2 separate regions of the Homo sapiens genome follow, and region 2 is linked to region 1. The links are contacts of gene promoters, found by promoter capture Hi-C in blood cells and fetal thymus (Javierre and others, 2016). All regions are on one chromosome and are shown on one strand. Each heading gives the region's core, a stretch centred on a gene start or on the middle of the fragment in contact. The rest is flanking DNA. Distances are from core to core; before and after follow the strand shown. Region 1 holds the start of HTRA4 (HtrA serine peptidase 4). Region 2 has its middle 30 kb from the start of PLEKHA2.

The links. The method cuts DNA at HindIII sites, captures the fragments that hold promoters and counts their contacts. A CHiCAGO score of 5 or more calls a contact.
Region 2: a contact is called between a fragment that was not itself captured here and the fragment with the promoter of HTRA4 in region 1, in 2 of 17 cell types (total CD8 T cells and non-activated CD4 T cells). The highest score is 7.1, in total CD8 T cells.

Annotation. Positions count from the first base shown.
Region 1 is chr8:38,970,413-38,977,141 of GRCh38, reverse strand. HTRA4 (HtrA serine peptidase 4) reads right to left here and starts at 2,914. Exons shown (of 9, transcript NM_153692.4): 1 at 2,413-2,914; 2 at 2,012-2,111; 3 at 403-607. The coding sequence starts at 2,878. It overlaps PLEKHA2 (pleckstrin homology domain containing A2), which reads right to left. Exons shown (of 12, transcript NM_021623.2): 12 at 3,230-6,729. RefSeq lists an enhancer at 2,278-2,337 and a silencer at 2,518-2,747. The HindIII fragment of the contact is 7,181 bases long and covers 1-6,712 here.
Region 2 is chr8:38,868,192-38,874,920 of GRCh38, reverse strand. No RefSeq gene overlaps it. Among named protein-coding and RNA genes, the nearest start is that of PLEKHA2, 30 kb to the left of the region's middle. RefSeq lists an enhancer at 6,528-6,729. The HindIII fragment of the contact is 2,358 bases long and covers 2,324-4,681 here.

The DNA of each region.
Region 1 (6,729 bases), core at 1,665-4,164:
CAACATGGTAAAACCCAGTCTCTACTAAAAGTACAAAAATTAGCCAGGCGTGGTGGCAGGCACCTGTAATCCCAGGTACTCAGGAAGCTGAGGCAGGAGAATCACTTGAACCCAGGAGGCAGAGGTTGCAGTGAGCTGAGATTGAGCCACTGTACTCCAGCCTGGGTGACAGAGGGAGACTGTTTCAAAAAAAAAGAAAGAAAAGAAAGAAACGGTTAGGGATATACAGAAAGGCGTTGAAGCAAATAAATAAAAGAGGGAGTAAAGAACAGAAAGAAACCAGAGAAAAGCATATATTCAACAGAAAAGATGTGGTGTGAGAGTGTAGTGGGGCAGAAAATATCAGCAAATAGATAAAAATCCCCAAATATGTAGACTCTGACTCAGCCCTGAAATACTCACATTTGATTCAATCTTAATCACCGCAAGATCCAATTTAAGGTCAATATCCTTGACAACAGCTTCATAACGGGCCCCATTCTGGAGCACCACCTCAATCCACTGCTGGTTCCTGACAACATGGGCATTGGTAATAATGAGCCCGTCCTCAGACACTATGAACCCAGAGCCACTGTACACAGGAACAAGCCTGCTGCCGTGAAGTAACCTGTCTCCACAAGACAATAGTGTAAACAGAGGGCAAGAAAGTTAGGGGATACAGCCATATAATCTGAGTCATGGGAACCTCACTCTTATTAAACATACCTCCATCATAGTTTTCTTTTCTTTTCTTTTTTCTTTTTTGAGACAGAATCTCGCTCTGTTGCCCAAGCTGGAGTGCAGTGGCGCAATCTCGGCTCACTGCAACCACCTCCCAGGCTCCTGCCTCAGCCTCCCAAGTAGCTGGGATAACAGGCATGCACCACCACGCCTGGCTAATTTTTGTATTTTTAGTGGAGATGGGGTTTCACCATGTTGGCCAGGCTGCTCTCGAACGCCTGACCTCAGGTGATCCACCCGCCTCGGCCTCCCAAAGTGCTGGGATTACAGGCATGAGCCACCGTACCCAGCCTTCCTTCAGTTTTCTCAGACATTTCACTTTTCCCTGGCTATGCGTAAATTTTCTCCATGTATCAGTGGACTTGGCAGGTACAGGGCCCCAGCCATCTCTTGTGAGCATGGTTGAGAGTGGGGTCCAGCTCTCCTTTTCCAGGGACACTGCTTCTTCAGAGCTGGTTAGTGTAGCAGCCCATGGGTTCTCTGCTGCGAAAAGACTGAACCCAATCCTAATACTAGAGGCAAAAGTCAGCCTCTTACCACAGTATCAAGGACCCAGGCAGGAGAGAATCAAAGGGCTCTGATTCTGGCTTAGTTTCCACCGCCAACTGGCCTCGTAACATAGTAACATAGGACAAATTAACCCTGCTCTCTGGGTCTGGATTTCCTTGTATCCAAAGTGGGGGCTGAGCAAGATCACAACCAAAATGCCTACTAAGCTGGATGTGGTGGCTACACCCGTAATCCCAGCACGTCGGGAGGCTAAGGTGGCAGATCGTTTGGGCCCAGGAGTTCGAGACCAGCCTGAGCAATATAACAAGACCTCGTCTCTACAAAAAAATACAAATATTAGCTGGGTATGGTGGCACCTGCCTATAGTCCCAGTTACTCCAGAGGCTGGGTTGGGAGGATTACTTGAGCCCAGCAGATGGAGCTGCAGTGAGCCGTGATCTGTCACTGCATTTCAGCCCTGGCGACAGAGCAAGACCTTGTCTCAAAAAAAGAAAAGAAATTGCCTACTAGCTCTTATATCTGACCTTAAATTTTGTCTGTGGCAGGAGGGGGAAAAAGCACCAGCCACCTAAGTGGGCAGGGGGAGCTGGGATTTAGAAGTCAGCATCCTTGTGCCTCTGCTCTTTGGTTAAATGACCTTGAACAGGTTATTCAACCTCTTTACGTCTCAGTTTCCTCACTGGTTTTTTAGGATTAAATGACGCTTGCGAAGGGTCTGGAGCAGGTAGGCACGCAGAAACCATTAGCTGGGACAGTGGAGGTCTTCCTCCTCCTCCTTTACCTGCCCCACAGCTGCACGTGAACCACCGATGGCGCCACCTTCTCCACCACCGCGGCGATGAAGTTGTAATTCCTCCTGAGCGGGCCTGCGCTTCTGGTCCCTATGAAAAAATACTGGCTCAAGAGTACGCCTCGAGGGAACCAGACCTGCTATCCTAGTTGGAAAAATGTTAAAGGCAAGACAGTGTTCAAAAGGTGCATGGGGAGGGAGAAACCACGTAGCAGCCGGTAAAGAGCCCCTGTTAAGGAGGAAAGGAAATCAGGAACACAGAGGTGTCGAATCCAGGAGGCAAATGACGCAGGAGGACCAGGCGCGAACTGTGCGGTCTCAGTGAGGTCTTGTTCCTTTACGCTCCTCCAGAGTTAGAAAGTGTTCCGAGGGCGCGCGCCCCCGCGGCTCACCTGTATCCCCGCAGTTCCCCCACTGCACAGGCACGGCCGGGACCTTGCCCAGGCGGCGCGCGGCGCGGTTTTCGGCCCGGAGCGCGCACATGCTGGGGTAGGTGCGCCTGTCGCTGCCGCACACGGCCCCTCCCAGCGTCGGGCAACCGCAGGTGCTGGGGAACCCGGGGCGCAGCGGCTGGAGGCACTGCAGCCCCGGGGCGCACGGTTGGCCCTGCGCCCCGCCGCAGACTTCACGCTCGGCCGCGGGGCAGACGCGGCAACAGCGGCACAGGTCGAACACCGGCGTGGTCCCCAGCGCGCAGGTGGGCAGCGCGGGGCAGCGCGTGGGCTGGCAGACCGCGGGGCAGGAGGGCTGGGTATGTAGCTTTTCAGCCCCGGCCCAGAGGACGGGCACCAGGAGCAGCAGCAGCCCCGGCAGGAGGCATCGTCCCAGCCCCGCGGTCCGCAGCTGAGGTCTAATCATCCTGTTCCTTCCTCGCTTCCACTCTTCAGTGACTTTACTCTGGACCTGCAAACCCTCCTAAATGAGAGACACTTTCTCCCGGCCACGGCGCCGCCTCCGCCGGCCCCCAAACTTTAAGGGGCAGAGCCTGGCATACCTCTGCATATACACACCCGTACATCCCCTACCACCCGCCCCCGTCGGCGCCCCGGAGCCAGGTTCTCCCCCAGGCAATGAGGGGAAGGTCTCTAGCCCTACCCGGAGCAGGAACCTACCTCCTGAAATCCCTAAAACCGACAATGAGGGCAGACTGATAAGAAAGCTCACCCACCCATGGTCAGAAGGTCAGTATTAGGAAAACACATGACCATATTTCAGTATTTCACATGGTTTTATTACAAAACAAGCCACAAAACAGTTTTAGAAAATTTTTGCTACATACCAATTAGGAGATCACATAAAATGAGAAGCGTAACAGTTTCCATGCACTCAGCCTAGAGCTTACAGCGAGTGCATTTCACAGCTGAAACATCACTGCTTTAAAACACAGAATCATGCTACCCCTTCATAAGCAGAGGGGGAGGAGGTCAAACAGTATGTTTTTGCCAAACGTTTGCTTTATCTGAACTCTATCTAGTATGAAGGACTGGCTGCCGCAGGCAATAACACAGAGAGGAAAAGGAACAAAGGAAGAAAAGGGTGCTGGCAGACAAGATTTAACAAACCTGTCCACTTCCGACATTTTGAAAGTTTATAAACAAAGCTCACTTGGGGACACTCAATTTCCAAAATGCTGTGACCTCCACATGTTATCTAATTTATACTGAAAACAAACCTACTAAACTCCACTCCTCAACTACTGAACCTGCTATTTATTCATGGGGTCTTTTTAGCCCATATAAGAGTATATTTATATTCAGAAATATAAAAGAAAAAAAATTTGCTTCAAGTAGACTAAGAAGCTGGACCTTAAAACTACTTTCTTTCTCGTGGGAGCTGAGTATTCAACTCAGAAATAGATGTATAACTCCAATATTCTGACCTGACATCAATCTCCATAATGTATACCTCAATACCCTTATGATGTCTCACTTAACACTAAAGGCCAAATTATTTTTACCAACCATCAGCTGACATTGAGTAAGCAAGTCTTTTGAAGATTTCAAAAGTAATAGATGGTGGCCAGGCGTGGTGGCTCACACCTATAATCTGAGTACTTTGGGAGGCTGTGAGGCAGGAAGATCACTTGAGCCCAGGAGGTCCAGGCTGCAGTGAGCCATGATCAGGCCACTGCACTCCAGCCTGGGTGACAGAGTGAAACACTGTTTCTAAAAATAAAAATTAAAGAATAATGGATGGCATTATTCAGCCATGGGGAGGACCACCTGAAATACTGTTACACACAGTGGGTCAAGACCACTTCAAAAGCCTTATGAAAATAGCACAACTCAGGCAAGGCTTTTATTCCACAAAGAAAATGCAGTACATTTTTTAGTTCCTTTAAAAAAAAAAAAACTCAGATTTACTCCAGAGCCTATGCACTTAGTCACTAATCTATACTGCATCCCCAACCTATTTTTTCCATTTGGTTCAATTTTATACATTTAAAACTAACTGCTTTGGTCAAATACGTACCATCTTTGGTTCACATTAAAAGATTATGGTCCAAAACTGGCCAGAAGTTAAGAAATATCAACAAAATAGGAAGTTTGAAATACAATTTAGGAATGGAATGCTTTTAGAGCTTGTTTCATTGAAGATAATAATTTATCTCATATTGAACTACATTAACGATGTTCTGGCTAGGTGCAGTGGCTCACACCTGTAATCCCAACACTTTAGGAGGCCAAGGCAGGAGGATCACTTGGGCCAGGAGTTTGAGAGAGCCTGGGCAACATAGCCAGGCTCTGTAGATAAAAAAAAATTAAAAATTAGCCAGGCGTGGTAGCACAACCCTGTAGTCCTAGCTACTTGGGAAGCTAACATGGGAGGATTGCTTAAGCCCAGAGATTCAAAGTTATGATGAACTATGATCACACCACTGCACTCTAGCCTGGGTAAGAGAGTGAGACCCTGTCTTTTAAAAATTAAAAAAAAAAAATTAAAAACAAGCAATGCTCTAATGTGGAATTCCCAAGTGTTTGCCAATTGACAAGAAGATTTCCATTTGACAGTCTTAGTGTCCTCGTTTCCCTTTATCAGGATAATACCATATGGATTCTATGTATGTTTAATTTGTCACATTCTCAAAAGAGATCTTGCTGAATAAGAAACAAATCAGCTTATTATAATGGCCAATTAATTTAGCAATAGTAACCTATCAGATAATTTTTTTTTTGAGATGGAGTCTTGCTCTGTCGCCCAGGCTGGAGTGCAGTGGCGCGATCTTGGCTCACTGCAAGCTCCGCCTCCCAGGTTCACACCATTCTCCTGCCGCAGCCTCCCAAGTAGCTGGGACTACAGGCGCCTGCCACTGCGCCCGGCTAATTTTTTTTTCGTATTTTTAGTAGAGACGGGGTTTCACCGCGGTCTCGATCTCCTGACCTCGTGATCCGCTCGCCTCGGCCTCCCAAAGTGCTGGGATTACAGGCGTGAGCCACCTTGCCGGCCTTATCAGATAATTTATTTAAAAGAAAAGAGAGAGAGAGAGATAAATGGGTAGATTTTCACAATGTATACACCAAAAGAGGACATCTTTTCCGTGAGTCAGGGAATATTTAAAGAGATATCAAAAGTCCCTATTTTCATGAGTTCCACATCACATATTTTGTGCTTTCTTTGAATAGCCAAAAAATTTTCTTGGGGAAAATACGAGAGTAAAACCAGAGCTAAGGAGCTATAAGAATTTGGAATGGCTTCTTGAAATCATGCCGCTCCAAGTATGTCATAACCTCGATCACTCAAAAATACATAACTCCCAAACCAAGAATTTCTGAGGGCAAAAGCACACCAGCGTGTATAGGAAAGGCAGGGGAAGGGATGGAAGGGAGAGAAAGAGGGAACAATGTAGATTTCCTGTTTTATACCAGGAAAACTAGGCCAAACTCAATTTAAATGAATAGCTCCAAAGCAGTGCAGTCAGAAAAAGTTCTCAGTGTGACATAGACTTCAGGGAAACAACACGTCCTGAAAGAAACATGATTCCCCTCAAGCCACAAAGGATTTTCTCATCAAGTGTTTTCACCTCTGCATTAGATTTGGACACAAGAAGAGGAGAGCATTTACTCAGGTAAAAATAGTTCTCTTAGTCTCTTCCTCTAGTTACTAATTTTTAATTTAAAAATACAATTAACTGATCTAGCTGATAAAAGTCACAGACAGAAATAAGCTAAGTTCTCTCTTCCTTTAGGGAACGCTGGTGGCAATTCACCATATAAACTGGATGGAAGAATTCTCCCAGGGACACTGGAAATAGCATCTTCTTATCAAATGGAAGGAGGTACGCCCTAAAATTTGGGTGGGACACTCAATTTTCTTTTATATTTTGAGACGGAGTTTCACTCTTGTTGCCCTGACTGGAGTGCAATGGCGCGATCTTGGCTCACTGCAACCTCCACCTCCTGGGTTCAAGTGAATCTCCTGCCTCAGCCTCTGAGTAGCTGGGATTACAGGCCTGCACCACCACGCCCGGCTAATTTTGCATATTTTTTAGTAGAGGCGGGGTTTCACCATGTTGGCCAGGCTGATCTCGAACTCCTGACCTCAGGTGATCCACCCGCCTCAGCCTCCCAAACTACTGGCATTACAGGCGTGAGCCACCATGCCCGCTCAAAACTCAATTTTCTAGGCTCTTTTATCTGAGGAATCTCTGGCCAGCAACTCATAACATCTAAATCAATGTTTCTATGCCAAGCTTCTATTTCATTAAAAAT
Region 2 (6,729 bases), core at 2,253-4,752, 100 kb after region 1:
TTACAGAAAAAAAGAAAAAGAATCAGAAAATGACCCTGCCAAGTGCTCAAAGTGGTTTCTCTGCTGCCTGTCAAAGGGCTTGCCGTGTGCTGAGAAATACCTTCAGAATGAGTGCCCTTCCTGCCTTTTCAGCAGCTGCTGCTCGGAAGAAAGTGGGGCAGAAGTGGCCCGGGGTAGCAAAGAGGTGGCCAGGGAAATACATCTAGGACCAGTCTGCACACTTCTGCTCTCCAGGTTTGAGAACTGCTGTCACTGATTACTGTTGCATGAGTGCTTACTGAAAAAAGTCACGATGGGGACAACTGAAGGCAGATGTGTTCCCCGTGCCGAAGACCAATGGTGCCAAGTTCCCTTGCTCTCCGGATACGGCTGATTCAGAAGCTTTGCCAAGTGGATGCCATTGCCTGCGCCTGCGTCACAAGCAGCACAACTTAGAAGAGGACAGCTGGCTGCAGCTCAGGTGAGATGTAACCATGACCAATTTCTGAAGAAAGATGTGAAAACTTTAAATCAAGCTATAAACGGTGATGCCCCTTCTTTTCATAAATCCTAATTGTGGTGATTTCATTTGGTCTTAAGCATCAAGCAAATGACAACTTCTTTTTTTTTTTTTAATTTAATTTTACTTTTTTGGAGATAGGGTTTCACTATGTTGCCCAGGCTGGTCTCAAACTCCTGGTCTCAAGCGATCCTCCCTCCTCAACTTTTTTTTTTTCTTCTTCTTTTTTTTTTTTTTTTTTTGAGACAGAGTCTTACTTTGTCACCCAGGCTGAAGTGCAGTGGCGTGATCTCAGCTCACTGCAACTTCCACCTCCCAGGTTCAAGCGATTCTTGTGCCTCAGCCTCTCGAGTAGCTGGGATTACGCGGGCCCACCACCATGCCTGGCTAATTCTTGTATTTTTAGTAGAGGCAGGGTTTCGCCATGTTGGCCAGGCTGGTCTTGAACTCCTGACCTCAAGTAATCTGGCCTGCTTCGGCCTCCCAAAGTGTTGGGATTATAGGTATGATCCACCATGCCCAGCCCCTCCTCAGCCTCTTAAAGTGGGGGGATTACAGGGGTGACCATGGCGCCCAGCCCAAAATGCAGCTTCTTGGTGAAGTTGAAGTCAGTGTTTCTCCTACCTTAATGGTCAAAAATTTCAGCTGACTTTTTGTTTTGTTATTTTTTTAGCTTTCCATATATTTATGTCTTGGCTCACTAATCTAATACAGAGGACATGCTGTTTCCAGAGCAGGGGCCCATGAAGTTCATTGTACATAATAATCTGGTGCAAAACATCTGTAACTGGACTGACTTAGCAAGTTTTAGCCTTTTAGATCACAGCAAGGCATTAGTATTGCTTAACTATCACCTCCTGTAGAGTCCATCTTCACATAGCTCCAAGTACACACACAAAAAAGTCCTTTACAGCTACGTTTAGCTAGCTTTTGACCTCTGAATCTCGTAAGAGTTTCTTACATTCTCGTTTGCTTGGCCAGAATCTGCTTTCATCTTTTCTGCAGAAGTAGAACCTGTGTCTCCAAAGACAAATAAGGAATTTAATTCAGTGGCTTTTTGTTTCTGGGGATAAGAAATGGCAACATTTTTCAGATCTATTGTCCACCTAAAGCCATGCCCTTTCTCCAACATGGGGACAAAGGGATGGTGAATTTTTGCTCTGAATATCAATTATAAACACAAATTCACCCTGGAACTCAGAACCTAAACCTTGGTTTTATTTTTATTTATTTTTTAAGTTTTTGAGACAAGTTCTTGCTCTGTTGCCCAGGCTGGAATGCAGTGGTGCAATCATAGTTCACTGTAACCTCGAACTCCTGGGCCCAAGCGATCCTCCCTCCTCAGCCTCCTGGGCAGCTGGAACTACAGGTGTGAGCCACCAGGCCCAGCTAATTTTTAAGTTTTCTGTAGTGGTCTCACTGTGTTGCCCAGGTTGGTCTCCAACTCCTGGTCTTAAGCACTCCTCCTGCCTTGGCCTCCCAAAGCACTGGGATTACAAGTGTAAGCCACCATGCCTCGCCCTAAACTTTGGTTTTAAAAAATAAAACAGTCAGACACAGTGGCTCATGCCTGTAATCTCAGCTACTTGGGAGGCTGAGGCAGGAGAATCTCTTGAGGCCAGGAGTTCAGGACCAGCCTGGGCAGCATAGTGAGACTCTGTCTCTTAAAAAATTTTAAAAAAGGCAAAACAAAGATGTTAGTAGCATCTAATGTTAATAACATTGTGACCACAACCAATTAGCTAATTTGTTTTCTGATTAGTCACTTACATTAGCCACATCATCTTAAATAACTTAGGTTTTTACCTCCTTCTAACATAAGCTTAGCAGTAGCCTATTTTTAGATAAGTCACTTAAAGTTTCACTTGAAAGGGATCAAAAGAATCAATAATTGAAGATGGAATTAGACACACCGGGTCCAAAAAATTATGTACCCAACAGTCAGCTTTTGTGAGTTGGCGCCTCCCCAGCCCCATCATCCATATTTTAAAATGTTGAGTGTGCGTGTGCACCAGATGATTCATCCAAGCTGCTCTGGAAGTTCTCTGCTGGTGACAGTAAAGCCGACCCACCCCCCTGTCCTCCCCTCTGCCTGGTGAAAATGCAGACTATCAGTTCTGTGGCACTGTCACAGCACATCGTGGCCTTCTTTATTTAGGTGCAATGCTGGTGGGCAGTGCGCTCCTACACGCAGCTTTCCATCTCTTGATCACATTCCCCCACCACTTTTATCTGCCTGCAACACCCAAATGTTCATGCCCAAAAAGAAAGTGAGGACTTAAAGATCCCCGGGGTCCTCAGAACCCGCAGAACAGGCCCCTCCAACAGATTATCGCTTGGCTTCATTGGTCCTCATATCCAAAAAGGTTAGATATTAAACTGTTTCCCAGCCTTATCAATGCAGGAGCCTGGCTCTCTCTTCCTGCTTACTGAAGATATAACAAAAGAGATTCTGAAATTGCTGGTGGTACCAGCTCTTGGGTTTCTTTTCTTTTCTTTTCGAGGTGGAGTCTTGCTCTGTCATGCAGGCTGGAGTGTAAGTGGCATGATCTTGGCTCACTACAACCTCCACTTCTTGGGTTCAAGCCATTCTCCTGTCTCAGCCTTCCAAGTAGCTGGGATTACAGGTGCCCACAACCACGCCCAACTAATTTTTGTGTTTTAGTAGAGACAGGGTATCACCATATTGGCCAGGCTGGTCTCAAACTCCTGACCTCAGGTGATCCACCTGCCTTGGCCTCCCAAAGTGCTGGGATTATACGCATGAGCCACCGCACCCGGCCAGCTCTTGGGTTTCTTTTAACAAAGATTTTGGGGGCAGATCTGTGCTCTGAGGATAAAGCTAACCACCCTAAAAACAAGAGTCCTTCTCTGGGGTTCATCCATCCCTCCCAGTATCCCCCTCCTGAAGCCCGTGTCCCCTCCCTTCTCCACGCCATCCAGAGACTTTCACATTCAGGAGGAAAGTTGGGCTTTTTTAAACAAACAAACAAACAAACAAACAAACAAACAACTGTAGATGTTTCAAGCTAGCCCTACAGGCTTCCAGCTCTCTCCCTTCCCCTCTTCTTATTCCCCCACTCCTGGCTCCTAGTCAATGACTAAAGCTCTCCAGGAGTATTTATGGACAGGGTATCTATTGTTGACCTTGTGATCACACTAATCCTTGGCTCGGGGCTGCTCTGCTCTGCTCTGAAAGAGTCACAAGGGTGATTGGGTGGGAGTAGGGAGGAGGACAGTGCCTCATTCAGGAACAGTACATTTATTTATAGAACAGGCCTTTTCCTCTTCTTCCTAGAATCATCTGTTAATGCCGCACTTGCCATATCCTCAAACACTCCCTTTGGGAGAGAGATGATAGGGGCCCAGGACTTCAGAATTAAAGGTCAAAGTTCTTAGAGTCAGGGCACCAAAAGACTCCTCTCCCCACGTCCACGGACAAACCCAGAGAAGCTCAGATTCCTAAGAGCTGTGGACCACTGGGCATCATGATTTCCTCGATAGCACCAAAGGTGTAGCCAAATGCTCTCTCCTGGAGACGCATGACTCAATGCCTGCAGGGTGGGGAGTGGGAGCTCAATTCCTGGGAAATTCTGGCCTCATTCTGGCAGTATTTGGGGTCTGATAGGCCTAATAATCCCCTTTATCTTTTTTTATTTTTATTTTTTGAGACAGAGTCTCGCTCTGTTGCCCAGGTTGGGGTGCAATGGTGCAATCTTGGCTCACTGCAACCTCTGCCTCTTGGGCTCAAGTGATTCTCCTGCCTCAGCCTCCCAAGTAGCTGGGATCACAGGCATGTGCCACCACGCCCGGCTAATTTTGTATTTTCAGTCGAGACGGGGTTTCACCATGTTGGCCAGGCTGGTGTCGAACTCCTGACCTCAGGTGATCCACCCGCCTTGGCATCCTAAAGTGCTGGGATTACAGGTGTGAGCCACCGTGCACAGCCAGCCTAATAATTCCTTTGGGGGTTTTTGAAAAATAGGCTGGGAAATTGCTGTGGATAAGAGAGTAGGGAGATGCAAAGGGCATCACCTTGTTTATCTTGTAGCATGTGATTGCCACTATCTGGATTAAAAAAAAAAAAGAAGAAAAATACAGGGCTTCAGGCAAGGAGTGAAAATGAAGGCCATCTGCATAAAGCTGGAAGAGGACTCTTGAATCCACAGGCCTGCTTAAGCTTGGAAACATTTAGCCCACAATTATCTGCTGCCCTGTGTGACTGATTGCTTCTTGTGTTCAAGTTCTGACTGAACCAGACAGCAAATCAGTTGTAGGCAGAAGCCTTAGGGAACAGAGCTGGGTACAAAATGAGTTCTCAGAAATCCCTTGTGGATTTTCAGACGTGGATTCTTATAAGTGACTATCATTAGCATTAAAAGATGTTTTTTGAAGATGGTGATGATTGATGATAGTAATGATGATGTTTGGATGATGATGATTGATAATGATGATGATGATTGATGATGTGGTGACGGCAGAATCCTACTGGAGGAAGGAACCTTGTGTCTTTTTTATTTCTTTCTTCCCTCTGCCCAGAAAGTACAGTGCAAATAGTAGGTTTTTAAAAATCATTTGCTAGATTATCAAATAAATCATAATCATTCCATGTCTGTCAAATAAAACCTTTTTTTTTGTTTTTGAGACAGGGTCTAGCTCTGTTGCCCAGGCTGGAGTGCAGTTGCACAATCTCAGCTCACTGCAACCTACACCTCCTGGGTTCAAGTGATCCTCCCGCGTCAGCCTCCCAAGTAGCTGAGACTACAGGCACGCACCACCACTGGGCTTGGCTAATTTTTGTAATTTCTGTAGAGATGGGGTTTCACTATATTGCCCAGGCTGGTCTTGAACTCCTGGGTTCAAGCAATCCGCCCGCCTCAGCCTCCCAAAGTGTTAGGATGACAGGCTTGAGCCACCACGCCCAGCCTACACATGGAACATCTAAGTTGCTTGGTGGTGACTTTGATTAGGCTTGAAGCTTTTCTTTTTCTTAAAGAAACAAAACAAAAATAGGATGTTGGGAGCCTGCTGATCAGTTCTCCATATAACTCATCTGAGTTTGTGCTAGCACAAGGTAGTGGTTCTCAAACTTGAACCTTGCATCAGAATCACCTGGAGCTTGTTAAAAACACTAGCTGGGGCTGGGCATAGTGGCTCATGCCTGTAATCTCAGCACTTTGGGAGGCCGAAGTGGGAGAATCATTCAAGTCCAGGAATTTGAGACCAGCCTGGGCAGCATAGTGAGATCCCATCTCTGCAAAGTGAAAGCCTGTCACAATGCTGGGTATGGTGGCACCCCTGTGGTCCCAGTTACTTGGGAGGCTGAGGTAGGAGGATCATTTGAGCCCAAGAGTTAGAGGCTGTAGTGAGCCATAATCATACGATTGCACTCCAACCTGGGCAACAGAGCAAGACTCTGGCTCTAAAAAAAAAAAAAAAAAAAGCAAAAACAAAACCCACCGTAGCTGGGCCCCAGAGTTTCTGGTTCAATACCTATAAAGTAGGTCTCAAGAAGATGAGATCTTAAAGTTCTCATGCAATGCTGCTGCTCCTAGTGATCTGGGGCCCCACTTGGAAAACTGCTGCCCCAGGGTGTGTTAGCAATGTCTCAGGTTCTCCTACCTGGAACTTTATTTGGGGGGTTTAAGAAAGGTCCAGGAAATGGACTCACAACTCTGTGTAAAGAGACCTATGGAGAGGTCCCTTGGAGAATTCTTCTCAGAGGATTGCTGCCACCATCTCAGCAAGGGCCCACTTTCTCTAGAATTTAGAGATTGTGGAAGTGGGACAAAGGTTGCCGAGGGACCACGTGGGGATCCTGATCTAATTTGTCTGCAGGCTCACCTCTCCACCCATCTCTTCTCCCCACTCCAGCCCCAGGTGATTTTTCTAAATCAGAAACTGGACCATCCCAGTCTCCTGCTCAGACACCTGTGATGGTGAGAGACAGGACTAGCTGGATTTCCTAGGCCAACTAAGAATCCCTAAACCTAGCTGGGAAGCTGACCACATCCACCTTTAAACATGGGGCTTGCAACTTAGCTCACACCCGACAAATCAGGTAGTAAAGAGAGCCCACTAAAATGCCAATTAGGCTAAAACAGGAGGTAAAGAAATAGCCAATCATCTATTGCCTGAGAGCACAGCGGGAGGGACAATGATCGGGATATAAACCCAGGCATTCAAGCCGGCAACGGCAACGCCCCTTTGGGTCCCCTCCCATTTTATGG